Regions from separate parts of the Homo sapiens genome. Here regions 1, 2, 3, 4, 6 and 7 are each linked to region 5. The links are contacts of gene promoters, found by promoter capture Hi-C in blood cells and fetal thymus (Javierre and others, 2016). All regions are on one chromosome and are shown on one strand. Each heading gives the region's core, a stretch centred on a gene start or on the middle of the fragment in contact. The rest is flanking DNA. Distances are from core to core; before and after follow the strand shown.

Evidence for each region. Contacts are between HindIII fragments. The CHiCAGO score rates a contact against its expected background, and 5 or more counts as called.
Region 1: a contact is called between a fragment that was not itself captured here and the fragment with the promoter of HSDL2 in region 5, in 6 of 17 cell types (neutrophils, erythroblasts, megakaryocytes and 3 more). The highest score is 7.3, in neutrophils.
Region 2: a fragment that was not itself captured here is called in contact with the fragment with the promoter of HSDL2 in region 5 in 2 of 17 cell types (naive B cells and total B cells); the score reaches 5.7 in naive B cells.
Region 3: a fragment that was not itself captured here is called in contact with the fragment with the promoter of HSDL2 in region 5 in 1 of 17 cell types (megakaryocytes); the score reaches 5.2 in megakaryocytes.
Region 4: a fragment that was not itself captured here is called in contact with the fragment with the promoter of HSDL2 in region 5 in 5 of 17 cell types (total B cells, naive B cells, fetal thymus and 2 more); the score reaches 8.9 in total B cells.
Region 6: a contact is called between a fragment that was not itself captured here and the fragment with the promoter of HSDL2 in region 5, in 1 of 17 cell types (fetal thymus). The highest score is 5.2, in fetal thymus.
Region 7: a contact is called between a fragment that was not itself captured here and the fragment with the promoter of HSDL2 in region 5, in 3 of 17 cell types (naive B cells, total B cells and megakaryocytes). The highest score is 8.0, in naive B cells.

The regions. Positions count from the first base shown.
Region 1 is chr9:111,898,710-111,902,886 of GRCh38, forward strand. The region is part of intron 1 of UGCG (UDP-glucose ceramide glucosyltransferase); the gene reads left to right. Among named protein-coding and RNA genes, the nearest start is that of UGCG, 4.0 kb to the left of the region's middle. The HindIII fragment of the contact is 2,433 bases long and covers 1,224-3,656 here.
Region 2 is chr9:112,832,676-112,836,628 of GRCh38, forward strand. It overlaps SNX30 (sorting nexin family member 30), which reads left to right. Exons shown (of 9, transcript NM_001012994.2): 5 at 3,539-3,734. Among named protein-coding and RNA genes, the nearest start is that of SLC46A2, 56 kb to the right of the region's middle. RefSeq lists a silencer at 520-720. The HindIII fragment of the contact is 691 bases long and covers 1,939-2,629 here.
Region 3 is chr9:112,770,134-112,774,418 of GRCh38, forward strand. All of the region lies in intron 1 of SNX30 (sorting nexin family member 30), which reads left to right. Among named protein-coding and RNA genes, the nearest start is that of SNX30, 22 kb to the left of the region's middle. The HindIII fragment of the contact is 1,085 bases long and covers 1,193-2,277 here.
Region 4 is chr9:112,790,303-112,794,437 of GRCh38, forward strand. The region is part of intron 1 of SNX30 (sorting nexin family member 30); the gene reads left to right. Among named protein-coding and RNA genes, the nearest start is that of SNX30, 42 kb to the left of the region's middle. The HindIII fragment of the contact is 5,421 bases long and covers 1-4,135 here.
Region 5 is chr9:112,378,307-112,382,307 of GRCh38, forward strand. It overlaps HSDL2 (hydroxysteroid dehydrogenase like 2), which reads left to right and starts at 1,802. Exons shown (of 11, transcript NM_032303.5): 1 at 1,802-1,874. The coding sequence starts at 1,858. It also overlaps a transcript of PTBP3 not described here. RefSeq lists enhancers at 986-1,035, 1,136-1,385, 1,385-1,984, 1,416-1,535 and a silencer at 1,756-2,005. The HindIII fragment of the contact is 10,070 bases long and covers 1-4,001 here.
Region 6 is chr9:111,922,268-111,926,680 of GRCh38, forward strand. UGCG (UDP-glucose ceramide glucosyltransferase) reads left to right here. Exons shown (of 9, transcript NM_003358.3): 3 at 582-684; 4 at 2,510-2,611; 5 at 4,117-4,229. Among named protein-coding and RNA genes, the nearest start is that of MIR4668, 7.6 kb to the right of the region's middle. RefSeq lists a silencer at 4,371-4,413. The HindIII fragment of the contact is 2,245 bases long and covers 640-2,884 here.
Region 7 is chr9:112,814,316-112,818,532 of GRCh38, forward strand. It overlaps SNX30 (sorting nexin family member 30), which reads left to right. Exons shown (of 9, transcript NM_001012994.2): 3 at 3,390-3,500. Among named protein-coding and RNA genes, the nearest start is that of SNX30, 66 kb to the left of the region's middle. RefSeq lists a silencer at 3,633-3,682. The HindIII fragment of the contact is 3,254 bases long and covers 1-2,994 here.

The sequences.
Region 1 (4,177 bases), core at 1,190-3,689, 480 kb before region 5:
GAGAGAGATGGAGAAAATTAAAATATGCACACACCAAAACTACATTACCTTGTTAACCTTTTGTGACTATCCTTCCAATCTGTGTGTGTGTGTGAGAGAGAGAGAAGGAGGGAGGGGAAGAGGGAAGAGAGAAAAGGACTATATTATGATTATTGTTCTGTAACCTGCTTTAAAGTTCATCTGTTTAATAAATGTTTATTGAAAAGCCGTTTTGTGCAAGGCACTGTTCTAGTTGCTGGAAGAGTGAAGAACAAACATACAAGGCCCCTGTTCACATGGAACTGTCCTGTAAAATGTCTTGACCGTTTTTTGCATGTCAATATCTGTATGATCTCTACATCATTTGTAATAGATGCATGATATTTTAGTTTACCAGGTACCAAGATTTATTTATTATTACTGATGGATGTTTAGGTTGTTTCCAATTTATCTAGATTACAAAGAACACTGTGATGAATTTATATGCATACATCTTTGAGAAATGATCTCATTTATATTTCCGAAAGAGGAATTATTGGGCCAGAAGTGGTGCACATTTTAAACTTTGATACATATTGGCCCCATGGAAATGTTATGTATATTCACAGTCCTGGTAACATTGTATGATGGCCCCATTTTGCCTTACAAACACTAAGTAGCAGGCATTTCACTGTTTTCTGTTTCTATTTTCATTCCTTTAAAGTTACATTGAGCACTTTTAAAATATGTTTATATGCTAGTTACATTTAGATGTAAATTACATACTCATAATCCTTTGCCTGTGCTGCAATCTGTTGCTGAATTCATCTTTCTGATATAAAGGTTGTTTTCTGTCACATGTAGCATTCTTTTCCCCAGTCTGTTTTTTGTCTTTTAACTTTGTACATATATTTGACATGGAGAAAAGTGTGTGTGCATGTGTGTTTTAGGTAGATAGGTCTTTCCGTTTCTTTTACATTTTCTAACTCTGTTATAATTTTTATATCTTCCTTATTCCTCCAAATTATTATATATGTTAGTCTCTGCTTCCTCTTAGTATTTTTTTCTTAATTTTTTCACATATTACCCTGAATTCACCCAGTATTTTACTTCGTTATATGAGAGCTAGAGCCCTAATTATAGTTTCTTCTAAATATTTAGAGACTTGTCCAGAATTACTTATCAGATGATTATTTGATTATTCCACTGTTTTGAAATATTTTTATTATAAACTAAATTCTGCTTTATACTTGGGTATGTTTCAAAGCTTCTATTGCCCTTTCTTAACCTATTTTAGATGGCAGATGTTTGTAGGATTTCTGCCAACAATGTCAAAGGTAACATTCAGATTAGAGACATTTCAAATTCAAGAGTCTTATTGTTGAGATTGAAGATTTCCTAAAAATAACTAAAGAGTATAGCCTTGGCAAGTTAAATAGCCTTTATGGGTTAATTTTTTTTTTTTTTTTTAATGGTAAGTGCTAGTGTGGCTTGATAGGTTGGGGCCTAAGGTGAAATTGTATAAAAGCCTAGACCTGATGGTAGTGTTTCTCTTCTAGCCCTTGGGAGCCACGTTGCTGCGTGATGAAGTGATCTAAGCAGAAACCTTGCTTCATGCTCTCTTCCCTATCCCATCCACCTCATATTATTATTATTTCCCTGTGTACATAAGGTCCTAATGTTTATCATCAGGCTTTATCTTTCGACTGGAGGTGCTAGGCTAGTGTGGAAATAATTTATGTGTCCTTAAATATTAGCTACCCTCAAGTAAAACAGAGGTCCTTTTTTACCTGGAGGTGTATATGTATATGTGTGTGTGTGTGTGTGTGTGTATTCTTTCTTTGATACAGGGTCTTGCTCTGTTGCTTAGGCTGGAGTGCAATGGCACGATCTTGGCTGACTGCAACCACCGCATCCCAGGCTGAAATGATTCTCCTGCTTCAGCTTCCTAAGTAGCTCCCAAGTAGCTGGGACTACAGGCATGCCTGGCTAATTTTTGTGCTTTTTGTAGAGACAGGGTTCTGCCATGTTTCCCAGGCTGGTCTTGAACTCCTGGACTTAAGTGATCTACCTGTCTTGGCTCCCAAAGTGCTGGGATTACAGGTGTGAGCCATCATGCCTGGCCCCCTGGAGATTTTTTAAGTTTTTTTTAAAGTTAATTCTGCTTTCTACAAACGTATTTCCTTTATTTTGTTTATTGTTATTTTTTTGAGACAGTCCTCTCTGTTGCCCAGGCTGGAATGCAGTGGCTCGATCACGGCTTCACATCCCAGGCTCGAGCAATTCTCCCACCTCAGCCTCCCAAGTAGCTGGGACTACCGGTGCATGCCATCACGCCCAGCTAATTTTTGTCACCCAGGCTGGTCTCAAACTCCTGGGCTCAAGTGATCCCCCCACCTTGGCCTCCTGAAGTTCTGGGATTACGGGCGTGAGCCACTGCGCCCAACCCAAATATGCTATCTCTAATGTACAGCAACTTCAATACCTGATGCACAGTTTTTGAATGGAATTTGCATACTCATTGTGTCAGGATAACTGCGATAAACTACCCGTCAAAAACTGGTTATGTTTTTCATGTAAATTTTAGCATTTGGGATATTATTTTTAGTTAGTACGATCTTTGCCTTAAATTCATGAATACTTGGTGTTCCAAGCCTTAGTGGAATGTAAATTGAGAACGTCTTTTTTGGGTTTAGTCCTGCCAATGCCCTTGGACTGTGGTCAAACGTTCATCAGTCAGGATCATTGCTACAGGGCTACTTTCAGGGAAATGAATAAGGCAGTCCAGCAATTCAGCCCCTTTAACCTGAGCCTGGGAAGATACGGAATTAGACTATAGTGTGATAGCTTTAAAGAACAAAGTGAGGGGCAGTGTGGGGAGGGAGAGCATCAAGAAGAATAGTTAATAGATACTGGGCTTAATACCTCGGTGATGGGATGACCTGGGCAGCAAACCACCATGGCACATGTTTACCTACGTAACAAACCTGCACATCCTGCACATGTACCCCTGAACTTAAAAGTTGAAGAAAAGAAAAAGAGCAAAGTGGAAATTGCAAGATTTTAGTATTCAGTGATGGTTCTATTGATTCATTATCCCTGCCTTTCTCTCTGACATTAGTTAGTTCAGCACACCTTCATATCTATCCTAGATGTTGAAGCTATGTCTACTCGCTGGTATCTCTAGCTGCAGCCTTGTGCCCCCTCGATTTTATATTTCTTATTGTAGCCTTTATCCTTCTGGATTACTAATCTTGGATCACAGTAGCTTAAAATCTTACCATGAATCCTCATTGCCTCCGGGTTACAGTTCAAACTCCTTAATGAGACAAGCACAGCTCTGTAGGAGCTGAACCAGCAACGTTGTATTACTGGCATTTCCCCAAATGTACAATGTGCTTTCTTTGGAATTGTCTTTACTTTCTTTCTTTTTTCTTTCTCTTCCTTCTTTCCTTCCAAAAATCTTGCTTAATTAACTCCTACTCGTTCAAGTCATTTTAGACTTTAGTTCCTTATTGGGTTAGGTGCCCCTTATGGCACCCAGCCATCTCCTATTTGTTTTCTATGGTGGTGGAATCTTCTACATTCTATAGTGTAGTAAGCCCATTGTCCAGTGGGCAGAGTTTGTGTTTTCCTATAGAGCTAACTCACTATTGGTTATTTTACCTTCTGTGAGAGAATTTGTGTTAGCAAGGTTAAGCTTGCACAAGAAGGTGTGCTTTATATTGCTTATGAAGCCCATTTTGAAGCAATACCATTTTTGAAATAAGTGATACAGGTAGTAAATTGGTCATGATATACTGATTATAAACAAACAGTAATATAGTCATGAGTGATAACAATAACAAAGGTCATTAGTCACTGGAAATTGCTGGCATGGACTATGTGAAGTTAGGGACTTGCTGATATAGCAGTGAACCTAATTTTACACGAAATACTAACAAGCTTTGTGACTTGGAGCAGGGAAGATAAATTCCTAGAGTCAGATAAATTGGTTCAGCAGAACCACACAGCGGAATTATAAAAACAACACATTCTGGGGTTGTTAAGCAAGGTGAACTTTTGCCCTTGTGGAATTCATATTCTTCCTTAGAAACCTAGAGTGAAATTCTCTCTTTTTTTTTTTTTGAGACAGAGTCTCATTCTGTTGCCCAGGCTGGATGGCAGTGGTGCGATCTCGGCTTACTGCAACCTCCGCCTTCTGGGTTTGAGTGATTCT
Region 2 (3,953 bases), core at 1,034-3,533, 450 kb after region 5:
AAATGACGAGTTAATGGGTGCAGCACACCAACATGGCACATGTATACACATGTAACAAATCTGCACGTTGTGCACATGTACCCTAAAACTTAAAGTATAATAATAAAAAATTTAAAAAAAATTAGAAAAAATATATATTATATATTAATATATAATAAATATATTAATATATAATATATAATAAATATAATATATATAAAATATCTATATATATAAGGTCCTTTACTGCCTTAATCAAAATCCGACTCCATATGAGTGAATACAGGAGAGGTGGCTTTAAACAGAACAAATTTTAGCCCTAATTCAGTATCGCTTGCTGAACAAAATGTGCTAAATGGCCTTATCTTTTCTTTAAAAATTTTTAAAATTGTGATAAAATACACCTAACATTTACTATCCTAACAATTTCTAAGTGTACAGTTCAGTAGTGTTAAGTATATTTAAATTAGTTATGCAGCTCATCTTCAGAACGTTTGCATCTTGCAGATCTGAAACTCTATGCCCATTAAATGGCAGCACCCTATTCCCCCTCTTCCAGCTGCCTCATTTTTTCCTTTAACATACCTTGAATAACTTGATCTTGTTCTGAGATGAGCCACTTACGTGTTCTGCCTTAGGGAATGCAGAGACGCTCTTCCTTTTCTTTGTGATCACATGAGTTTATCAACAAATTAGAAATGTCCTTAAGAAGAAGCCAAAAGGCTGTATGTAATGGCTCATGCCTGTAACACCCAGCGCTTTGGGAGGCCAAAGCAGGTAGACCACCTGAGCCCAGGAGTTCATGTTCAGTCTGGGCAACATGGTGAGACCCCATCTCTATATATTAAAAAGAAGCAGCAGCAGCAGCCAGTAGTAATACTGGGAGAAATGGGGACGCTCAATAGCAACTATATTCAAGTCAATATTTTCATCTTTGGCAGAGTGGGTACAGCAATCAGATGGATACTGCTGAATAACTTTATTCAACATGTAAATTAACTTGGTTAACGGGGACACGCTTTCAAAGCTCTACTTGAAGCGGAGCCTGTGCAGTCCAGCGAGCCCATTTGACTCTAGTCCCACTCGTAAAAACGCTGTCTGCAGAGGTAATTCCAAGAACTCTGAGGCTTCAGTTATAGTCTTGTGAAGGCCTTGTGCCTTTGAGGATGTTTCTTGTCTAGAATGTGGGAGGTCAGAAGGGGAGATGGAATCTTTAGGACACTCTCTCAGGCAGCCTGACTCTGAAGGAAACGAGAGAGGTGGAGAGGAACTAGAGGAGATTGCTGCTGTTTTTAAGATGGGTCAGCCTTGGGTGTATTTTACATGCTGAAGGATTAGAAGTTGAAGATACAGACAGGAGAGGGGATAATTGGTAGGGCAAGGCCCTCGGTTGGGGGAAGGTATGGATAGGTGTTCCAGAAAAACTCTCAAACCATGGTTTTCCTCTGCTCTCAGGCAACAACAGTTGTCATCAACACAGGAGAAGACTTCTGTGACCAAATTGCGGGGTGGGGGTGGGGGCGAGATTTTCCCCAAACACCAAGCAGCCATTGCCAGCTGGATGTCCACCAGTTTAATTTGCACATTATTTGCCTGGACATAGCATCAGATCCCACAGGTTGAGGACTCAGTCCTCAAGTCTGAGAGCTTCCAGATCTCGGACCTTAAGTTCAAGCCTCCAAAACTTCTGACCAGCCAGCTTCAAGTTGGGCTTCCCGTGACCTCTTCTTTGGGTTCCATTAATTTGCTAGAGCAATTCACAGAACTCAGAGAAACACATTTACCAGTTTATTATAAATGATATCACAAAGGATACAGATGAAGAGTTGCATTGGGCGAGGCGTGGGGGAAGGGGCGTGGAACTTCCATGCCCTCCCTGGGTGTAGCACCCTTCAGGAAACTCCACATGTTCAGCTCTCCAGAAGTTCTCTAAACCCAGCTCTCTTGGGTTTTTGTGGAAGCTTCGTGACAGCAGCATTCCATCCTCCAGGGTGTAGGGAGGGACCTTAGTCAGAAAGGCTGGGGAAGATTCGAGTCCTGCCTTGGGGCAGGTGAAAGGAGGGCAGGGGAAGGACAGAGAGATTCTGTTTCCTGAGGCTTAACACACCCAACATTATAGTGAAAAGACTGGAACAAGGTCTGTGGAGGTTATGAGCCAGGAACCGTGGATTAAACACACACACACACAAACACACACACACACACACACACACACACACACACACACACCTACCTCAATAGGAAAGGCTGGATCAAGAGCAAAAATGAAGGCCTAAAGAAGGAAGCGAAGAAGGAAGTGAATTCACGAGGTGCCTACACTCAGATACTATAGAGACCTCAGCCTGAAATTGTACATCAAATGCGGAGGGGCTGTTGGGCCATGTTAGCCGCACATTCCACATTCTCTGCTCTATCCTCTGCATCAGGCCACGTCACCAGAAAGCTGTGTCCTTGTTCTGGGTTCCTTTATCTCCCTCTAGTTATACCCTTCTAGGTCTGGGGATTAACATTCTGTTTGTATTGAGGGTGGATATGAGGAACAGACACCTGTACCTTCTGTAAAACCATTTTGTAAGCTACCCTTTCAGTAGGTGACACAGGACAACCTGAAGATTGTATAGATTCCTCTTAGTGTTTGATGATAGGAGGAAGCTTGTTTTATCAGGCAGGCTAATATGCTTTTCTTTTTTGCCCAGGCTGGAGTGAAGTGGCACGATCTCAATTCATTGCAACCTCTGCCTTCCAGGTTCAAATGATTCTCGTGCCTCAGCCTCCTGAGTAGCTGGGACTACAGGTGCATGCCACCATGCCCAACTAATTTTTTTTTTTTTTTTGTATTTTTAGTAGAGACAGGGTTTCACCATGTTGACCAGGCTGGTCTTGAACTCCTGACCTCAAGTGATCTGCCCACCTCAGCCTCCCACAGTACTGAGATTACAGGCATGAGCCACCATGCCTAGCCTGGCTAATAAGCTTTATATTTAGATACAATGGGTTATGAAACTCAACATATTTCCAGTTTTGCCTTCAAGAAATCCAGGGTTAAAATGTTTTGCTGTTTACAGCATCCATCCTAGGCCTGAGTTTTCTAGCAATGTTTTTCTGCCACTGTTTCCTGCTTTCCACCCTTTACTCCCCTTATATGGCTTTAGTTGGGGTATAAATAAATGAGTGATGGATCTCGGAACCTCTGCTCTTCAGTTTTGCTTGTAAAGACAATATAGGGTACTTTGTATGGGAGAAACAGATACTTAAAAAAAATTATGTTAGAAACAGCATTGTGTTTAAAGGGCAGTGTGCTCAGGTGAGTGAATTTGATTAAGGATTGGCGTTCAGCTCTGCTGAAAGGGATTTAAGTGTCAACCTACAGGAGCCTGAGTCTGGTGGTTATGACGTCCAGGCCAGGTTCCTCCTGTGAATGTGATTAGAGCCTCTAACTCAGCTCCTTGTTTCCCGAGTTCTCCATTTCCAAACTGAAGCTGCTTTTAGAAGCTGTTTTATTTAGTCCTGCCCATGTGAGTGAGTGAGTGCTTTGAGCTTATTCACATATCATCCTCAGGACCTGAACGCCTACAAGAAGCAAGGGATAGCATTGCTGACCAGAATGGGCGAGTCAGTCAAGCACGTCACTGGCGGCTACAAGCTGAGGACTCGGCCGCTTGAGTTTGCTGCCATAGGTGACTACTTAGATACATTTGCACTCAAACTGGGAACCATTGATCGAATAGCCCAGCGGATCATCAAAGAAGAAATAGGTGAGCTGTCTGTTGAGGTCTCGATTATGCCCTGCAGCCACATTGGCAGAAATGCCATTCATGTGTGCTACAGAGAATCAAACTGCAAAATGCTGGAGTGACAGAACTAGGCCATCTTTTGCTTATCAAAGAAATACAAGGAGGGGAGGAGTTACTTGTGACTGGAATGTCACTTTGCACCCCGTCCTTTGTCCTGCTGTGTCAGCCTTGTGTTTGCTT
Region 3 (4,285 bases), core at 485-2,984, 390 kb after region 5:
TCAGTCGCATCATGTCTCTTGCTTTTTAAATTTAATTAATTAATTAATTAATTTTTGAGATGGAGTCTCACTCTGTTGGCCAGGCTGGAGTGTTGTGGTGCGGTTTCGACTCACTGCAACCTCTGTTTCCTGGGTGCAAGCAATTCTCCTGCCTCAGCCTCCCGAGTAGCTGGGATTACAGGCACCTGCCACCACACCCGACTAATTTTTTGTATTTTTAGTAGAGATGGGGTTTCACCATGTTGGCCAGGCTGGTCTCGAACTCCCGACCTTGTGATCTGCCCACCTCGTCCCCCCAAAGTGCTGGGATTACAGGTATGAGCCACCGCGCCTGGCCTCTTTTTTGCTTTTGCTTGAAACCATCCAGAGACTTCTCAGTTCTCACACATTCCCCTCAAATCCTCCATGGGCTCCAAGTACATGGGTAATCTGGCTCTGCTGCTTCTCTGGCCTCCGTCCACTTCTCTCTCCCCCTGCCCACTCCCTTGCCTCACGCCTTTTGGCCCAGACAGCCTGCAGGCTTGTTCATCTATTTCATTCAGGCCTCCCCCAACCTCCCTGTATAAACTAGTAGCAGCCCCTGGCCGGGCGCGGTGGCTCACGCCTGTAATCCCAGCACTTTGGGAGGCCGAGGCAGGCGGATCACGAGGTCAAGAGATAGAGACCATCCTGGCCAACATGGTGAAACCCCATCTCTACTAAAAATACAAAAATTAGCTGGGCGTGGTGGCGCGTGCCTGTAGTCCCAGCTACTCAGGAGGCTGAGGCAGGAGAATCTCTTGAACCCAGGAGGCAGAAGTTGCAGTGAGCCGAGATCGGGCCACTGCACTCCAGCCTGGTGACAGAGTGAGACTCTGTGTCAAAAACAAACAAATAAACAAACAAACAAAAAACAAACTAGTAGCAGACCCCTCCCTGCCCAGTTATTCTCCCCCTTTACCTGGCTTTAATCTTGCTTCGCAGAACTTAAACCACCAGACATACTTGGTTTACTTTCTCCAGTACTGTGCTGTAAACTTCTTGAAGGCAAGGGGCCTGATCTGGTTTGCTTATTGCTAAATTTCCATGCATGAACCAAACCTGGTATGGGTGGAGTATACAGATATTTGGTGACTCAATAAATGGACCCGTGCTAAATGCTGTGTGTATAAGGATACCTGTTGCAGTATTATTTTTAATAGCAAAAGATAAAAGCTTATATGGCTATTAGTAGGGTGCTGGTTTTGTAAACTATGGTAGTTTTTGAAATGTGGTATTAAAAGGAATAAGGCAGCCCTGTATATACTTATATGCAACAATGGAAAAAAACGTTAAGTTGAAAAAATGTATAAATCGTGTATAGTCTGTCTTGCGTGTGTGTGAAAGAATTTATGTCAGTATGTCTGCCAGCCTTGGAAGGATGCAGCATTGCTGTGTCAGAAGGGTCCTTCTCCCAGCCTTCAAGAGTATAGTCTCCCCGGGTGGCTATTTGACCAAATTAGGGAGAAAGAATCTTCCCTCTCTCTTTCTAATTTGGTTAATAATGGTTGATACCAAACAAACTCTGATCATGCTTCAAAAAAAGGGGCCAGTGAGGGCTCTCACTCATAGTCCTGTTGAGCAGTTATGACTGTTTTTGAGAAGGGATAACAGCCACATTTTCATAACTGCTCAAAACCCCAAAGAGATAAGGCTAAACTGTGACAAAGGGAAAAAAGAGACAGTGCTTTTCTGGTAGTTTTTCAAATCTGTTCAGGTCAAATATGGGTGAATGTTGGCTTGTGGTGAGTTTTACCCTTTCCCTCTGTGGTCAATTTTGTGAACTTTTTGTTCTGGCTTGAGACATTCTTTTTTTTCCTGGTTCAAGTCATGGAGCAGGGGCAAACCTTCGGTTGTTTCACAGTTGTCCAGACTTTATTGGACCCCATTTCATGCCCTTGCCCTCATCCTTCCTGGCAGAGGACTTTCCTTGCCTAGAACATTGCCAGTCTCCGTGAAAGAGGAAGAGGTGTTTTCAGCCCGGTGACGTTAGCTCTGTTCTGGTTTCCTTTAGAACAATCCTTATTCTAGTGAGGGGTTACTCTAGCTTCATTTCAGTTTCTCCCCAGAGAGAGGAACGACCAACTTGTCAACAAGTGGAAATGGAAGAAGTGTTTCTGGGAGGTGGCTCTGTTGGGGATTAGACTGACACCTCTTTGTAAGAGGATGCAGTTGAGTTGCCTTCACTCTTCTGCTGTAACCAGATCCTCCTCTCCAGGTGTGCTGGGAGACCTGGCACATTATTTTAGGTATTCTTGAAGCTTTTTGAGTAACCTAGAAAGTATCTCATATAGTATGATAGGCTAGACATTGTTTAGATTTGTGGATTGACAGGTGTGGGGCTGTGGTACTCGTGTGTGCGTGTGGAGATATCTAGGCGTGTCTCCCCTGCCATGGTTTGAGCAAAATGGTCACATCTTCACTTCCAGTCTGACTCTGAAGAACAAGGTAGCCACTGTATTTTGCTTTTCTCAAATCATTCAAATTCTCTTAGATTTTGCTGTACCCAGTACTGAGTGTGAGTAGAAAGGGTAATGTTTATTAAAGATACATTGCAGTATCCCAAGATCGTAAGTTATGAAAGCAATGTTTGCATTTCACATAAACCAGTTTTGTTACTACATAAACGAATATGTCTTCAAGTGTTGATCCTGGCGTGTTTGCTCCTTGATTTAAAACAAAAACACATTTCCCATTTTAAATTCTCCTTGTGTTTAAATTATGAAAAGGCTACTTGAAAAGTCTTGCTATTGATTTATTCGTGAATCAAGGAACTTCCCAGCTATCTGTAGATTTGTGGTGTTGCAGTAAATGGGTCAAGAGAATCTGTTAATCTGTTAATTGTGAGAAACAATGTTGCCAGAAGCTAAATGAATAAAGCATACTTACCACCTCTTGTTCCAAAGCAAGGAAGCACACTGTGTAAAGAAGTTGAGAATTGTTAGAGAGGTTGGTTAGAGCAATGTAGGTGTGAGGCCGTTGCAGCTGCGTAGAGAGAATAGAGCCTTTAGAGTTGGCCAAGGGAGTTCTAATATAATCACTTACTGGCTGGCAATCACTTACCTCCTCTGAACCCTGTTGTCCCATCCATAAAATGGGGTTAATAATAGTACCTGTCTCATAAGGTTGTTTTGATAGCTTAATAAGGTTATGTACAATAGGGTCCAAAATCTCTTCTCATAACTGATAGTCATAACTCATATGAACAACATACTTTATATGGCTACAAAGAAGATTATTTGCTTTTTTTTTTTAAGAGATAGGATCTCGCTTTGTCATTCAAGCTGGAGTGCAGTGGCGTGATTGTGGCTCACTGCAGCTTTGAACTCCTGGGCTCAAGCAATCTTCCCAAGTAGCTAAGACTTACATATATTTTGATAGATACTGATAGTAGGAATAGGTGCATCTTGAGGTGTGTGGTGTACCTTAAATATTCAGAAAGTAAAAGATGAAAGAAAAGGAAGAATGCTTTCTAGAATAGTAAGATTATATAGTGAGACTATGATAAAACTCAAGGCATATGGGGAAGGGGAAACAACCAGTTCTGCAGAAAGAGTACATAAATTGTGGAGAAGAAAATCCTGAGTGAGCTAGGATTCATTTACTATAAATTATGACTTCAAGGCCAAATTACAGATAGCCTTAACAAATAAGCAGCTCACAATAAATATTCACAATTATGTTATATTTATATTACCATGGATCTGATTATAGTAGAAATGTTCACGTCTTCTCCTTAATTTGATTTTCATTTTGTTTCAATAAGTAAATTACTCTTGGCTCATTCAACATGATGATGCTGAAAAGAAAAGAGGAATCTTTCTATGTGACCTGTTTGTCTTCAGAAGAAAGGTTTATTTCACTGGCCAGAAAACAGAATTCTCTCCCAGAGGAAATGGATGAGAGAAACTGGACTTAGGAAGTTCATATTCCATTCATTTATTCATCAAATATTTATCAAGTGTCGGGCACTGTGCTAGGTGCTGCTAGCCAAATCCCCACTGGAGAGTCTGTTGCATTTCAGGGCTTTTCAGGTTTCTGTTTCTCTTCTTCTACCCCAAGATTAAAAAGAGCAGTCTAAAACAGTGGAGAAAAACCTGAAACCAAAATTGGCTCTTTGAAAAAGAAATCAAGAAAAATGACAGACCTTTAGCTAGATTGACTAAGAAAAAAAGAAGATTCAAATTACTAAAATGAGAAATGAAAGAGTGGGTCTGTAAGGTCATGTTACTAATGACCTTACAGAAAGGAAAAAGGATTGCAAGGA
Region 4 (4,135 bases), core at 1,057-3,556, 410 kb after region 5:
ATTATATGTACTAGTCAGCTTTGCTGTGGTAATAACTCCAAAAATGCTAAGGTGTGCAACAAACATGTATTTCTAGGTCATGCCGTGTGTCAGTGGCTGTGAGTCAGCTTCTCTGGCCCTCTCCTGCAAGTCTTCCCATTCCAAAGGAGCAGCCCCTGTTTGGGACACACTACTTTCAAAGTCGAGGAGCAAGGGAGCTGGTGGAAGCATGCGTTGGCTCTTAAAGGATCTGCTCTGATCCGATGTACATTCATGTACCATGTACCAGTGGCTGGAGCAAGTCACGTGTCCAAGGCCAAAGTCAGTGTGGTGGGGATGTGTCTTCCTGTGGGAAGTCACTTGGCAATAAGAAGAATATATGATCCTTTTAAAGGATGGGAAGTTCATAATTATGAACACTAATGCAATCTACCATATAGTCTTTGTCCTCCACTTCTTTCCCAGAACATTTAGTAAATATAGCAGTTCATGTTTACCATTTAAAAATGCTTTAAACACATTTGCTCCCTATTATGTATATTACAAATTTTAGATAATTTGGGAGGAGCCTGACCTATTGCCATGAACTCATGTGGCAGATCACTGTATGAGTTCAAGTATTCTTCTCTATATTATTGCGGTAACTAGACTTTCCAGAATGGTTTTGAATTATGGCAAATACTTTATATCTGAATGTAGTGGACATGGCTTTGTGATTTAAAAGGTCTTCATTTTTAAAATATGTCCACTACATTTTTTATTGTTTTATTGTTATTGGAGATAATTTACAGAGCATGAAATTCACCATTTTAAGGTATATAATTGAGTGTATATTCACAGGGTTGTGCAACCATCATCGCTATCTAATTTTAGAATATTTTGTCACCCCAAAAAGAAATTTGGTCTTTATTAAGCTGGCTCTCCCTGTTCCCCCTACCTGTAGCCCCTGGCAACCAAGTCTGCTTTCTGTCTCTCAGGATTTGCCTGTTCTGACATTTCATATAAATGGAATTATATAGCATGTGGCTTTTCTCATCTAGCTTCGTTCACTTAGAATAATGTCTTCAAGATTAATTGCTGATGTTTTCTGATAAATACTTTTAAACATATTTAGGAACTTTTTTTTTTTTTTTTTTTTTTTTTTTTTGAGACGGAGCCTTGCTCTGTCGCCAGGCTGGAGTGCAGTGGCGCAATTGCGCTGCTCACTGCAACCTCCGCCTCCTGGGTTCAAGCGATTCTCCTGCCTCAGTCTCCCAAGTAGCTGAGACTACAGGTGTGTGCCACCACGCCCAGCTAATTTTTGTATTTTTAGTAGAGATGGGGTTTCACCATGTTGGCCAGGCTGGTTTCAATCTTTGACCTCGTGATCCACCCGCCTTGGCCTCTCAAAGTACTGGGATTACAGGCATGAGCCACTGCACCTGGCCGGGAACTTTCTTTTTACTTCTTAATTTTACTTAGAGATTTAAATGGAATGGCTGATATGAGTGATGCCAGTAAATATTTTGGTAGTTTTGGACATGAGTATCTTCAACAGTGGTTGAAGTAATGTATATTAATGTAATATAGTGTAATGAAGTAATGTTATTAATGTAATAAATTGTATTGATAAATTTCCTAATGTTAAATCATTCTTGCTTCCCTGGAATACATTTGACTTGATCCTGGTATATATTTTTTTTCCAAAAATTCTTTTAGTGTACTGTTAGTTGTTACTTTATTAATGATGTTTATGCTTGTTCTCAGTTTTCTTTTTTGTCCTAATATTTTGATACCGGATATAGATAGTCATCATGAAATGATTTGAAAGGTTTCTGCATTTTAAAATTATGTCTTAGAATATTTGAATAAAGTAGGACTTACTCTTTGAAGGTTCATGAGTGCTCACTGTGAAACACTTGGGACCCAGCTTACCTCTTCGTGGATGTTCTCTGACAACAGTTTTGTGGTTATTTATCTGTTTAGGTTTTTTCTCTCTATTTAATTTCACCTTGATCACATAATTTTTCCTAGAAAGCCAGCTAGCTCATATAGATGTCCAAATTTGTTGGCATAGTTATTCACAGCACAACCTTTTAATTTACAATCATACATAGACACAAGTTCTAAATAGTTATTGCCTGTTCCCTTTTTCCATTTTCCTCTTTTTTTATTTTTTATTGAGACAGCATCTCTCTCCGTCGCCCAGCCTGGAGTACAATGGTGCGATCTCTGCTCACTGCAACCTCTGCCTCCTAGGTTCAAGCAATTCTCATGCCTCAGCCTCCTGAGTAGCTGTGACTACAGGCTTGAGCCACCACGCCTGGCTAACTTTTTGTATTTTTACTAGAGACAGGGTTTCCCCATGCTGCTCAGGCTGGTCTTGAGCTCCTGGGCTCAAGCAATCCACCTGCCTCGGTCTCCCAAAGTGCTGGGATTATAGGTTTGAGGCCACTACACCTGGGCCATTTTCCTTTTTCTATATTGTTCAGATTTCCTAAGTTTTAGTTTATCTGATTCATCTTTCAGAAGAATTAAATTTTGCTTTTGTTTATAACTTTTGTTCTTTTCTGTTTTAATTTATGCTTTCATTTTTAGATTCTCTTTCCACTTTCTTTAGGCTTTTTTTTTTCTTTTTCTTTTAATGGGAACACAGAGTAAGTCTGGCCTAAAGGGTTCTGTTTTATGGGCTTCATCTTTTTCAAATGCATGTTTATCTGTTATTGAGGACTCTTGCTTTTTTTGTGTTTTGGTTTTCTTAGGTCTGAGTGATGAGCTAATGCCATTTTGAGTTGTTTTTATGGTTTACTTGCCTCTGATGAGATAATAATTCAGACCTGCTATTTGCCCCCATCAGAACAAGTGGATTATATTGGATCCTCTGTGTTTCTACTTGATGTTGTTAGCATTGTCTTAGATCCATAGATTACTAGTTATCTGTCAGATGGGAAAGAAGCCTGGCTTTCTCTGTGTTTTAGCTGCTCCCCCCATCTCAGTAGAGCTCAGTCCCCCCAGCATTTGCAGTCTGGCCTGCTTTGGGCTTGTTGGACACACCCCAGGGCAGCCAACCCAGATGCCTTCATGTTCCTATGAGCTGCTGCTTCCATCTCTACCCATCATGCGGGGGGAGAAGGCCATGTGGGCGGGGTGCCCTCTGCTGGTGGCCCACACTTGGTGTATTTGCCTGTGCTTGGCATCCCCTTGGTCACAGTCACAGCAGCCAACTCCTTGGTGGTCCTGGATTGCCCCACTGCCAAACCTTCCATGTCCTCTACTCCCCACTGACAATCACACTTTCAAATTAGCGTGCGTGTAAAGGGGGTTCAAGGACATTTTCTACTTATTAAGTAACCTCAATAACCTGAAGTAACTTCGGTGACATGGGTTAGATTCCTCTGGGTTCTTTTTTCAGTTGTGGCCCAGGTAGAACCAGTAGACAGCCTTTGAGACCTTTGGCATTTGGATGGCACCCTTTCCTCATTTCCAGTATTGATATGACTCCAGTCACTGTTTTTCTTGTTCTTTTTACCTCCACTGTTTTTTGTTTTTTTTTTTTTCTTTCATTCTCTAGGTTAAATTAGTATCTGGAGGGTGGAAAAAGGGAGAACGCAGAGGCTTGTGTTCAACTCACTGAGTTTATCTAGAGGTCTAGCTTTCTAATTTTTTAAACAAGTGTGTCACATTACACATACAAACATGACCGCTTCCTGGTTATTGAGCCTTTGGGATTTTTCTAGGTTTCACTCTGTGTTCTTTGTATCATGAACATCTTTGAACAGAACATTTTTGAGATTATCCCTTTGAGTTTATTCTCCAAAGTGGGCTTAGCTTTAGTTTTACAACAAAATCAACAATCAAGAATATTCAGTTTGTATAGAACACATTCATTCATTTTTTTTCTTTTTTTTTGAGATGGAGTCTTGCTCTTGTCGCATAGGTTGGAGTGCAGTGGCGTGATCTCAGGTCACTGCACCCGCCGCCTCCCAAGTTCAAGCAGTTCTCCTGCCTCAGCCTCCTGAGTAGCGGGGATTACAGACGTGTGCCAACACCCCTGGCTAATTTTTGTATTTTTAGTAGAGATGGGGTTTTACCATGTTGGTCAGGTTGGTCTTGAACTCCTGACCTCGTGATCCACCCGCCTCGACCTCCCAAAGTGCTGGGATTACAGGTGTGAGCC
Region 5 (4,001 bases), core at 552-3,051:
AAAGTATAAAAATAGTGTAAGTACAGGTATTTAGGCTCACAAAATATCGTTATGACTGAAAAATTGGCAAAGGTTTTTTGTTTGCTTTGCCTCTTCGTTGAGCTCTCTTTCCGTAACAAATGGAAATAGAAGCACACAAATTCAAGAAAGGAGGCTCTAACAGACTGAAGATATTGTGGCTTTCAAAAAGGAGAGAACATTTTAGATGATATGAAGGAAATGTCACCCCGTTACTAAGAATTCACTCTATTCGACAGATATATACACGCTTCAGCAAGTGCTCCTAAGGATGAGAGGAGAGTAAGTTATTTTCATCTAACAGTCTCTATCAACACTCTTCTTAAAACACCTAATGCTTAACAACAGTCTAAAGAACACACTGGCTACTCATACCTCCCATAGGCAGAGACCTTGTCCTTTTTGAGCTGCTGTATCTCAGGTAATCAGCAATCACTTAGTGGATGATAATAATTTGCAAATTCCTCTGGAGCCTCTAAAGACCGTATCATGAATCATCAATTCAAATGCCTACAGGAGTCGGGCAGGTGATATGCAGGAGGAAATAGAGTCATTTAGGGCCCATAACAAAGGGGAGAGAGGCCGGGCGCGGAGGCTCACGCCTGTAATCCCAGCACTTTGGAAGGCCGAGGCGGGCCAATCATTTGAGGTCAGGAGCTCGAGACCAGCCAGCCCAACATGGCGAAACCCCGTCTCTACTAAAAACACAAAAAAATTAGCCAGGCGTGGTGATGCATGCCTGTAGTCCCAGCTACTCCGGAGGCTGAGGGAGGAGAATCACTTGAACCCGGGAGGCGGAGGTTACAATGAGCCGAGATCCGCGCCACTGCACTTCAGCGTGGGCGACAGCGAGACTCCGTCTCAAAAAACAAAACAAAAACAAAGGAGAGAGTACATAAGCCATCTCCAGGCTAGTTTCTTTAACTAGTCTTCATATAATAATCTCCTCAAGGTCCTGTTCTATCCCTACAAAATACAAAACAGTTCCTCGTGTCTTCCTTCAAATATACTACAGTCTTTAGCTCATCAGAGTAGCTGAGTTAGTCCAAGGCATAATCCCAAAAGCGAAACTGAATGTCAGAATTGATCTCATTTCAACACTCATTCCAGAAGTAGAAACTTCTGCAAGTTCAGCTTTTGACTATGAATTCTTCAGCGCGACTTTTGCAGAGAGCTCTGTTCCAAGAAGCTGGCGCCTTAACACAAGCTATCTACCGATGCACAAGGGAAGGCTGGCTTGGGTCCAGATTCGGCGGGAGAGTGGAAACGCGACGCTGGCCGACTTCAGCCACAAAGGCAATTTCTGCCCAGGGCTAGCGTTCCTAAGAGGGGGCCGAGAGAACGCCAGGCTCGGGCGTAGGGGCAAGAAGACCCAGAGCTAACGCACCTCTCGGAGGGCCCAAGCTCAGGGCTCAGTCACCCTCCCAGCTCGGAGCCGGCGCTGGAACACAGCGGCGCGAGGAGAAACCCCTAGAGACAGGGAAAAGGTGGACGTAGCGGCTGACGCTGCCCAGACGCTAGGCGCCGACAGGAGCCTGATTGTCACCGTACGACCAGTGAGGGGGCGGGGCGGAGCTGTGCCTCAAAGCGCCTGCGCGGAGAGCCTGCAATCAGGGACCAGGCTTGGGAGGCGACGAAGAGGAACGCTGGGCGCAGGAGGCCCACTGCATACGCAGGCGCACTCGGCGATCCCGGCTTTTCCGCGCGCAGTTCCCGCACAGGCATCGGGGGGGGCAGGGGCGGGGCAGGGGCGGGGATAAATGCGGAGGGACGGTCCAGCTTTAGCTCTCTGCTCGCCGCCGCCGCTGTCGCCGCCACCTCCTCTGATCTACGAAAGTCATGTTACCCAACACCGGGTAAGGGGGTAGGGGCGGCGCGGGGAGAGACCCTGTCGGGCGAAGGGCGCGTCTCGGTGGGGCCGCCGCGGATCGCCCGGGCTGGCCGGCCCGGCTGTGGGAGGTCAAGGATACTGCCTGGGCACGCTCTGAGCTCTGGTCCGCGCTGGGCACTGTGCACCGAGAATCTGCGGTAACGTGTGAAAAGGAACACAAACTTTTGTATTACAGGATGGCAGCAGTGTAGAAACCTTTTCCACGGGTAAAGGGCCGAGGGGGAGTCACCACGCCGCCCCCAGTGCCGGCCCTCCCTGAGTTTAGCAGGAGTGCGTGCCTGGCCGAATGCGTGTGAGTTCTAGGTGAAAGGTCGCAGGAGCAGCTCCAGAGTTTAAAGAGTTTTCACTTGTTCCTGACGCTCAATTCTAGAGTAATAATGGAGTGTTTAAAAAATGATTTCCAAATTAGAAACTAAACCGATCTTAAAACATGGGTATCTTTGGGGGATTTTTTTTTCACCTTAAAAAATTGTGTTAAAATACGTACAAAATCTGCCATCTTAACCGTTTTTTAAGTGTACACTTCAGTAGTGTTAAGTAGATTCATATCGTTGTGCAGTCAATCTCCAGAACTTTTTTCATCTGCAAGCTGAAACTCTATCCATGAAACAACTCCTCTTCCCCACCTCCGCTCGTACATTGGCAACCACCATTCTACTTTCTGGTTTATGTAAGGTCTGGGTATCTTGAGTTGAGTGACGTGTTGTCAGATTTTGTAATTTGCCTGAAACATGCAGGCATATAGCCAAAGACTTAAAACAGTTCAAAGAGTATAGGGTAAAAAGTGAGTCTCCCCATCCCTAAAATCTAGTTCCCCAGTTACTTACGTTTCTATTTCGTGCATGTATGAACATAATTTGTATACATCCGGATACACACACACACACACACACACACACACATACCCTTTCTTAAAAATAGCAGCAGACTCTATTCTTGGTCTTGCTACTTTTAGTTGGTATGTCTTGGGACATTCTTTCTTTGTTTTTTTTAAAGACGGGGTCTCCCATGTTGCCCAGACTGGCCTGTAGCCTTGAACTCCCAGGCTGATGTTCCTCCCTTCTTAGCCTCTGGAGTATTTAGGATTACAGGCATGCACCGCTGTGCCCAGGGACATACATTTTTAGTACATGGCAGATCTTCCGCCTCCTTTTTTTTTCTTTTGAGATGGAGTCTCGCTCTGTCTTCCAGTCTGGAGTGCAGTGGCATGATCTCGGCTCACTGCAGCCTCCGCCTCCCGCAATTCTCCTGCCTCAGCCTCCCGAGTAGCTGGGACTTCAGGCGCGTGCCACCACGCCCTGTTGATTTTTTTGTATTTTTAGTACAGACGGGGTTTCACCATGTTAGCCAGGATGGTCTCAATCTCATGACCTCGTGATCCGTCTGCCTCGGCCTCCCAAAGTGCTGGGATTACAGGCGTAAGCCACTGCGCCTGGCCCCTCCTCCTTTTTAATGGTTGCATAATATTCTGTAACAGCTTGAGTATCCATTATCCAAAATGCTTGGTTCCAGACGTGTTCGGATTTCAGATTTTCAGATTTGGTTTGCTCAACCTGTATATGAATATACCTTTGTTTATTTAACCTGTTCCCTATTGTTGGATACTAGACTGTTTCCAGTTTTTTGGATACTCTTTTTTTGCTTCCATAATTATACTTGTATTTATCTATTTGCACATATATAAGTGTATATGTAGGATAAACTCCTGGAAGTGAAATTGCTGGATCAAAGAGTAAATGTGGCTGGGCACAGTGGCTCACGCCTGTAGTCCCAGCACTTTGGGAGGCCGAGGCGGGCGGATCACTGGAGGTCAAGAGTTCGAGACCAGCCTGGCCAACGTGGTGAAACTCCGTCTCCACTAAAACTACAAAATTACAAAAATTACAAATACAAAAATTAGCTGGACCTGGTAGCGGGCACCTGTAATCCCAGCTACTCAGGAGGCTGAGGCAGGAGAACCGCTTGAACCTGGAGGCGGAGGTGGCAGTGAGCCGAGATCATGCCACTGCCCTGCCCTCCACCCTGCGAGAGAGAGTGAGAGTCTGTCTCAAAAAGAAAAAAGAGGAAATGCACTTTATATTTTGACAGATAT
Region 6 (4,413 bases), core at 512-3,011, 460 kb before region 5:
AATCAAATTCTGTTTTGTTTCAAAAAGTTATGAAACAAAAAAGGGTAATCTTACTTTGTCCTTTTCATGTGATGAATTTGGAAGGGCCCTTTAAATTTATTATAATGGGATTTTATATGAAATTTGTTGCACCTTCATGAAATAATATTAAGTATAGAGACAAAGCTTCTAGAGAGAGGTTGTGTTTATTTTGCTTCCTTTTGATGTCACTTTTTACTCTGCTAGGCACCCTGTGAGCAGTTAGTAAATCTTCAGTAGTGATGGCCATGGACAAGCTTGAGATCCAGTTAATGGAGATTAACTAGGAGATTCCTATCTGGGAATGGCAAGACTGCAGTTGTGGGCACTGCCAGTCTCTTCCTTATTTATTCTGCTTGCAGATAGGCTCCTAATTAGAAGCTTCACTCCATTAAAGCAACACTTGTTATCATAAGTGTTTGCATCCATTGTGAATGCTCTCTTTTAAAACTTTGCATAATACAGTTGCTTGTTTTTTCCTGTGCTTTTTGTTCAATCAATACATGCTAGTAAGTGCTTATTTTTTTAAAGAATTTAATTTACATACAATGCTTTTTGACTAGTATGAAGTGCTCCTTTGTGTACAAGATCATGATGATCCAGCCATTGATGTATGTAAGAAGCTTCTTGGAAAATATCCAAATGTTGATGCTAGATTGTTTATAGGTAAGTAACAAATTCTGTAGTAACCATTTTCCATTGATAGTATTAAGTATCAGTAATCTCTGCATTGAACTGAAGATTAAGGTGTTAGCCATGTTTGTTTTAAACATGTTTGTTGGAGTACTGAGAGGTGTTTACGTCCTTTTGAGAAAAGTTATAAAAACAAAGGTTTTTTTTTTTCATATCTGAGATGAACAAAATCACACACAAAATAATATTTTTCCCATTAATCAGACATGAGGGTCTGTTATTTTTTGTTTCTTCAATATTTTAAATGTGTGGCCTTTTCTGTATCTTACTGACTATAATTGGAGTGAATGATAGAATTCACTTTTATTACATTACAAGAAGGGTATTTTTCCAAAAGCCTACAGGCTTATTTGAAAGACTTGTAGAGGTGTGTTTGCCATTAGTGTTTTTTTTTTTTTAACATAGAGCTGATGTGGTCTCTCTAAAAAACCAGTAAGTCGTATAAAATGATATCAGATCTTTGCTATTTGAAGATCGGGCAATGATTTAAATTTTTTATTAGCTTAAAATGCAAATTTGAAAATTAATATAAGTGTAGCATGCCTACGAATTAATCAGGACCATTACAAATCTATCAGCTCATGGTCAGAGATGCTCATTCTTCACATGTGCTATCTTAAATTATTTACTGTCATATATTTATGGGGTTTTTTTGGTTTTTTTTTTCTTTGATACGAATTTTTTGCTCTTATCACCCGGGCTGGAGTGCAATGGCACAATTTCAGCTCAGTGCAACCCCTTCCACCTGGGTTCAAGCAATTCTCCTGCTTCAGCCTCCTGAGCAGCTGGGATCACAGGCGTGCATCACCACGCCCAGCTAATTTTTTTGTATTTTTAGCAGAGACAGGGTTTCACCACGTCAGGCTGGTCTCGAACTGCTGACCTCAGGTGATCCACCTGCCTCGGCCTCCCAAAGTGCTGGGATTATAGCCTCCCCAGTAGCTGGGATTACAGTCAGGCACCACCACGCTCAGCTAATTTTTTTGTATTTTTAATAGAGATGGGGTTTCGCCATGTCATACTGGTCTCGAAGTCCTGACCTCAGGTGATCCACCCCCCTCGACCTCCCAAAGTGCTGGGATTACAGGCGTGAGCCCATGGTGCCTGGCCATGTGTGTTTACATTTAATAAACCTTTATTAAATATAATCTTACTGTATTTATGAATTTATACTGTTTTAATTATAGCTTCAAAATAACGCCTGTAGCTTTTTCCCTTAGGATTATTTTTTAAATTGACAAATAAAATTTGTATATATTTTTGGTGTACAGCACGATGTTTTGAAATATATATATATGTACACATTGTGGAATAGCTAAATTAAGTTAATTAACATATGCATTACCACACATATTTATTCATGGTGGGAAATCTCTCTTAGCAGTTTTCAAGTAAACAACATGTTGTTATATACTTTCTCATGTACTTATACTTTATTTGTGGTGAGAAATCTACTCTTAGTCATTTTCAAGTATACCATACATTGTTGTTACCTATAGTTGCCATGTTGTACAATTGCCATTAAATATTGACTCATACTTAACTACTAAGGCAAGGACTTAAGAATTAGAAAAAGTGAAACAGTGAATTTTCAAAGATAAATGATACAGTTTTCCTTTTGAGAATGGACAGTTTTTTCCTAAATATATTATTATGAATAATAGAGAATGTTAAATAATATGAAAGTATGTTTAATTATTAAATATGCAAGTATTCTCATTTCTATCATGTATCTTTATACTATAAAATATTTTTAATGTTGCATAAATCTTTTACTACTGTACCTTTACATTTTTAGGTGGCAAAAAAGTTGGCATTAATCCTAAAATTAATAATTTAATGCCAGGATATGAAGTTGCAAAGTATGATCTTATATGGATTTGTGATAGTGGAATAAGAGGTGAGGTTTTTTTCTTATTTATTTTATAAAACTATTAATTTGAAGATAAAATGCTAAAAGCAATCTCAGATACATTCATGAGTTCTTTTTATTTGCCTAAAAGAGTAATTTATTTCATCATCATTTCATGGTAATATGTCCAGTTATGCTTACTAAGATTTTGATTTTTTTAATCCTAAACTAGAATGTTACATGTATTAAAATGTTTTCATTTTGAAGAGAAAATTTCAACCATTAAATTAAAAATGGTTGTGGTTCATTATATAATCTGCAAGCTTTCCCATGGGTGTAACTTTTCCCTTGTTTGCCTGACACTTATCTTTAATGTGTTTCGGCTTGCGTAATACACCGTCTCACAAAGGGACAGAAATTAATAGGTGCATATTTTACTAAAACACATACACTTATCGGACTATACACATGACTTTTTACTTAAATGATTTTAGCAAGAAGCCTTTCATATACTGAAATTATAACTTGCATTTTCGAACACTCATAATAGTTTCAGTGTTCTATAATATTTTCTTATATTCTAATTGCCTTAAGCTTCTCAACCCCAATACTGTTCACATTTTAGGCTTTGTTGTGGGAGCTGTCTTGTAGGATGTTTAGCAGCATGCCTGGTCTCTACCATGAGATGCCAGTAGTACCCCCTTCTCAGTAGTAAAAGCAAAAATATCTTCAGATGTTGCCGGATGTCCCCTGTGGGGCAGAATTGCCCCCAGTTGAGAAGCACTGACCTAGAATGAGTATTTAAGGTCCAAATACAACTTTTCTTTATACGGTAGATTTAGTTCTTAAAGACTTGGAGGAAATGAAAAATAAGGTCATGTAAAAATGATATGAGATGTTTGCTAAAGATTGGGCAATAATTTAAATTTTTTATTAGCTTAAAATGCAAATTAGAAAATGAACATAAATGTTGCACTCCTATGAGTTAATCAAGACCATTACAGATCTATCAGCTGGTCAGAGATGATGTTCATTCTTCATATTTGCTATCTTAAATTATTTACTATCATATGTTTTTCAGTGTACAGATCTCTGTTCAATATAATCACGTTCCATTCCTGTGTGGAAATCTGATACTCACAGAGAAAATAGTCTCATTTCCTATGGTTGGAGAGTAGAGAAGCCAGCACGAGAACTGAGGTCCTTTAGCCTCTGCTCCTGAGCCTTTTCCACTAGGACAGATTGTCCTTATTCCAAATTAGAAGTTCCAACAGGGGGTAACTTTTTCAAAGTATATTCTGCCTCTGGTACATAGTAGGTATATACTGGGCTAAAAAATGTATAAATTAGCTTTCGAGAATTAGGCCCTTTTGAAATTTTGTATTCTCCTCAGAAAGGTGGTTGAGATTCATTTTATTAGATCCATATGTTTAAAATAATGTATTTTATTAAGAATGTAATAACAATTCACAAAATATATTTTATATTAATGGGCATTCTACTAAAAACAAATTTTCTTTTCTCCCCCTCTCTGCCTTTTTTTTAAATTGTAGTAATTCCAGATACGCTTACTGACATGGTGAATCAAATGACAGAAAAAGTAGGCTTGGTTCACGGGCTGCCTTACGTAGCAGACAGACAGGGCTTTGCTGCCACCTTAGAGCAGGTGAGTATGGTGGTTATAAATCATGTTCATAGTATCAGACCCCTCATTTCCCAGAAGCTTGAGACTATGGGAGCTGGAATTAGGTATCTCAAGTTAACTGTATTAAGTCCATTTGGGAACCTGCTGTGTTCTAGAAGCCCTGAGTTGAGAGCAGCTGTTTTCATTAGTGAGGAAATTCTTGGGA
Region 7 (4,217 bases), core at 118-2,617, 440 kb after region 5:
CTGTAACCTCTGCCTCCCAGGCTCAAGCGATCCTCCCACCTCAGCGTCCTGAGTAGCAGGGACTACAGGTGCATGCCACCATGCCCGGCTAATTTTTGCATTTTTTGTAGAGACAGGGTTTTGCCATGTTGCTCAGGCTGGTCTTGAACTCCTGGACTCAAGCTATCTGCCTGCCTCGGCCTCCCAAAGTGCTAAGATTATAGGCATGAGCCACTGCGCCTGGCTGGACTTATAATTTTTAAAAAGACCCCTGATAAAAGAAGAAAAATACTTTTCTTCTTTTGGCCAATAAACATTTGAAAGGATGTTCAACCCCAATAGTAATTAAAGAAACAACTGTAAACAAAGATGATGTATTATTTTTCATTTATCAGTCCACCAAAGATAACTAGTTCCTGAGAATACGTGGTAAGAATATAAATTGCTATATTTCTGAAAGCAGTTTGTCAATTAAAAAGTATATGTACACTTTTGTCCAGCAATTCTATCTTTAGGAATTTATTTTAAGGGAATTACGAGGTGCTCAATGGTGTTTACAAAAGTATTGTTTATTGATGGAAAAATTGGAAACAACTTAAATGGGGATTTGGTTTAATTATCGTGTAACCATTCAGTGGAATACTATGTATGTGTTAAAATGACTGTACATCTGAACTTACTGCTGCAGAAAGATGTCCAAGATGTGCTAAAAGAGATACAGACAATGAGTAAATGAATGAATATGCGTAGAAAAATATGGAAACATATAAACCATGTTAATTGTGTTTTTCTGTATTTAGAGGGATTATGGCTGATCTTTTATTTTCTATTTATTTTTCTTGAAGTTTTAAAATAAGTATATAACCCGAATAAATAGAAGGAAAAAAAAAAAGCCTGTTCCCCAAAAGTGAAATTGGTTGTGGCAAAAATAAAACGTGTGTTCTATTGTGCTGTCTTTTGTAGTTACCAAAAATGATTTCAAATTAGAGTAGAAATATTACATAAACTGTAATTTATGAAATGGATCTGAAAAACATAAGAGAAATGATCAGTTAATAGTGTAACTTTTTTTTTTTTTTTTTGAGACAGGGTCTCTTGCTCTGTTTCCCAGGCTGGAGTGCAGTGGTGCAGTCTTGACTCACTGCAGCCTCCCCCTCTGGGGTTCAAGCAATTCTTATGCCTCAGCTGCCTGAGTAGCTGGGATTACAGGCACCCACCACCACAACTGGCTAATTTTTGTATTTTTAATAGAGACAGGGTTTCACCATGTTGGCCAGGCTGATCTTGAACTACCGACCCCAAATGATCAGCCCACCTCGGCCTCCCAAAGTGCTGGGATTACAGGTGTGAGCCACTGCGCCCAGCCAATAATCGTGTAACATTTAAGAAGGCAAAAAGTAGAGCCTTCCATCAGTTTGGTTTACAATGAAAACCAGTTGCTTTAATTTGTCACCTTTCAAAATATGTCTTTCATTAGCCCTTAATCATTGGCAAGTTCTCACATGGAGCCTATCGGGGGGAGATGGGAGGTCTTGAACTTCCCTTCCAACCTGCTTTTGTTTTTTTGAGACAAGGTCTCACTCTGTCGCCTAGGCTGAAGTGCAGTGGCACAGTCAGCTCACTGCAGTCGTCTCGACCTCCTGGGCTCAGACAATCCTCCTGCCTCAGCCTCTGAGTAGTAGGGACTGCAAGTATGCACTACCACACCTGGCTAATTTAAAACTTTTTTTTGCAGAGATGGGGTCTCGCTATGTTGCCCAGGCTGGTCTCAAACTCTAGGGCTCAAGCTAATCCTTCCTTCTTGGCCTCTTAAAGGGCTGGGATTACAGGCATGAGCCACCACGCCCTGCCCTAACTCTCTTCTTACTGTTGAACCTAGGGCTCAAGGAGGCTTAGTGACATGTTAGGGATCTGGTAGGGATGCAAGAACTGCATAGGCGCAGAGTCCTTCCTACTCCGCCTGTGCGGGTGGTGTGGGGATGGGAGTATCAGGCCACTTGTTCCCAATATTTCTGTCATGCTGTGCTTGAAAATTTGTCAACAATGACTTGCTCTCTGGATTTAAGTGTTGTCTTTTTTCCTCTCTCTCCAGTCCTACAATGCTAGTTCCTTTGGGAAAATCATCTGATAAGTCACAAATACCTACATTGAGTGAATTTCCCCACATCTTCACCCTTGCAAACACAGAGGAAGGTCGTGTTTCATAGGCATATGCTGGTGTGTGGGACTTGAAGAGGGGAAACAATGCAGTTAGTTGGGGGTCAGTCCAAGAATGAGTCCTTGAACTTCACCATTTTGCTAAGACAGTGAACACAGGTTTTGGGGAGGATGAAATCATAATTTTTGATGCTAGAGCTGTTCACAGCTTTTTCTTTGATGAATGACTCTCGTTCATGTGCTTAAAGATTTTCTTGGTGCTGTGAATTAAAACAGACTTTTGGCTTGAAAGAGTAAATTTATGAGATGTAGCTTGACCCATTTTTATCTTGTACTTTAATTTCTGAGAACCATGACAGTCATATAGTGTGTATCCTCATAGGGAAAAATGGCTTATGTGAGACACGGTGTAATTTGTGCCAGTAAATGAGTAAAAATCTTGTTTTGGTAAAAATCAACTCAATTTTATTTAACATTGATTTTCATTATTAAAGTGCTGCAATCACATTTCAGAAAACTTTAAAAATTGAGAAAAAGGGATGAGATTATTAATATTTTTCTGCAATGCAATGGCATTTTTGTATTATTTCTAGATTTTTTCTTATCTGTCTAAAATATAACAGTTCCAGGGTTGTGGTTTGGCAGAATGTGGCAAATTAAGCAAAACCTTTTCTATTTTCATCTAATCTGCCCCCGAAATGAGCAGTGATCTATTATCTTTACTTTTTGTTTATTTCCTCTTTGGCAAAACTTGTCAGCATATTTAGCAGAAGGTGGAGACAATTTCTTTTCACAGATTTGGATTTAGTAGCAATATCCTAAGTGGATTTTTTCTGCTAAAAGAAATTGTTAGAGTTAAGCTTGGAGGAAATGAATCAAATGTTTCTAAACAATTCTGGGGGATAGTTGAATTCTATTTCCTGACGGTAGGGAAAAAAAAAAAAACTGGCTTTTTTTTTTTTTTTTTTTTTTTTTTTTTTGAGACGGAGTCTCGCTCTGTCACCCAGGCTGGAGTGCAGTGGTGCAATCTCGGAAAACTGGCATTTTTATTCCAGCTCGTTGAATTTTTAACTGGGCTAAGTGTCCCAGACTGGTCTATTCTGTGTTGGTAAACTCTGCCATTTGGCTGTTGTGTTTGGTGGAAGGAAAATATGATCTTGCCTAGTTTGGTTATTCTAAGAGCTTTTTTCCTTCCCTTCAGCCAAGATATGCTATTCCCTTATGCTTATTTTTTTCCATTCTCTTCTTTGCAGAGTACTCGGGTGGAGTTTGACCTGCCAGAATATTCTGTTCGTCGAAGATACCAGGATTTTGACTGGTTGAGGAGCAAACTGGAAGAATCCCAGCCCACTCATCTCATTCCCGTAGGTAGTAAGTCACTACAGCTTGTTTCTCACTTGTCCTGTGTTGTCTTTCCTGAAGGGGTTCACTCAACTCTCATCCCTTAAGTTATACAGACTCACCCAGCAAACATATATAAAACATGTTAACGGACACTGTATACAATACTTCACCTATTAGGTTTTAGTTTCTGATTTGGTATATAGAAAGCCAGTTTTGCGGCTGGCTGGGCTTTCTTTAGCCACAGCGGCAGAAATCTAGCACAGAATCCATTGCCACAGTTTTTCATTTAAAAAACAAGAAACCACCTAACACTGTTTATTGAAGCAACGTGACATTTATCTACTCCAGCGCTTCCATCTGCACAGTTTTTAAAAAACAGAACCAGAGCAAAAGAAATTTAAATCTTTTTTTTTTTTTTTTTTTTGAGACAGAGTCGCACTCTCTTGCCCAGGCAGGTGCGCAATGGCATGATCGCAGCTCACTGCAACCTCCGACTCCCAGGTTCAAGTGGATCACCTGCCCCTACCAGGTTCAAGTGGATCACCTGCCCCAGCCTTCTGGGTAGCTGGGATTACAGGCGTATGCCACCACGCCCAGCTAGTTTTTGTATTTTTAGTAGAGATGGGGTTTTGCCATATTGGCCAGGCTGGTCTCGAACTCCTGATCTCAGGTGATCCACCGACCTCAGCCTCCCAAAGTGCCGGGATTACGGGTGTGAGCCACCGTGCCTGGCCTCA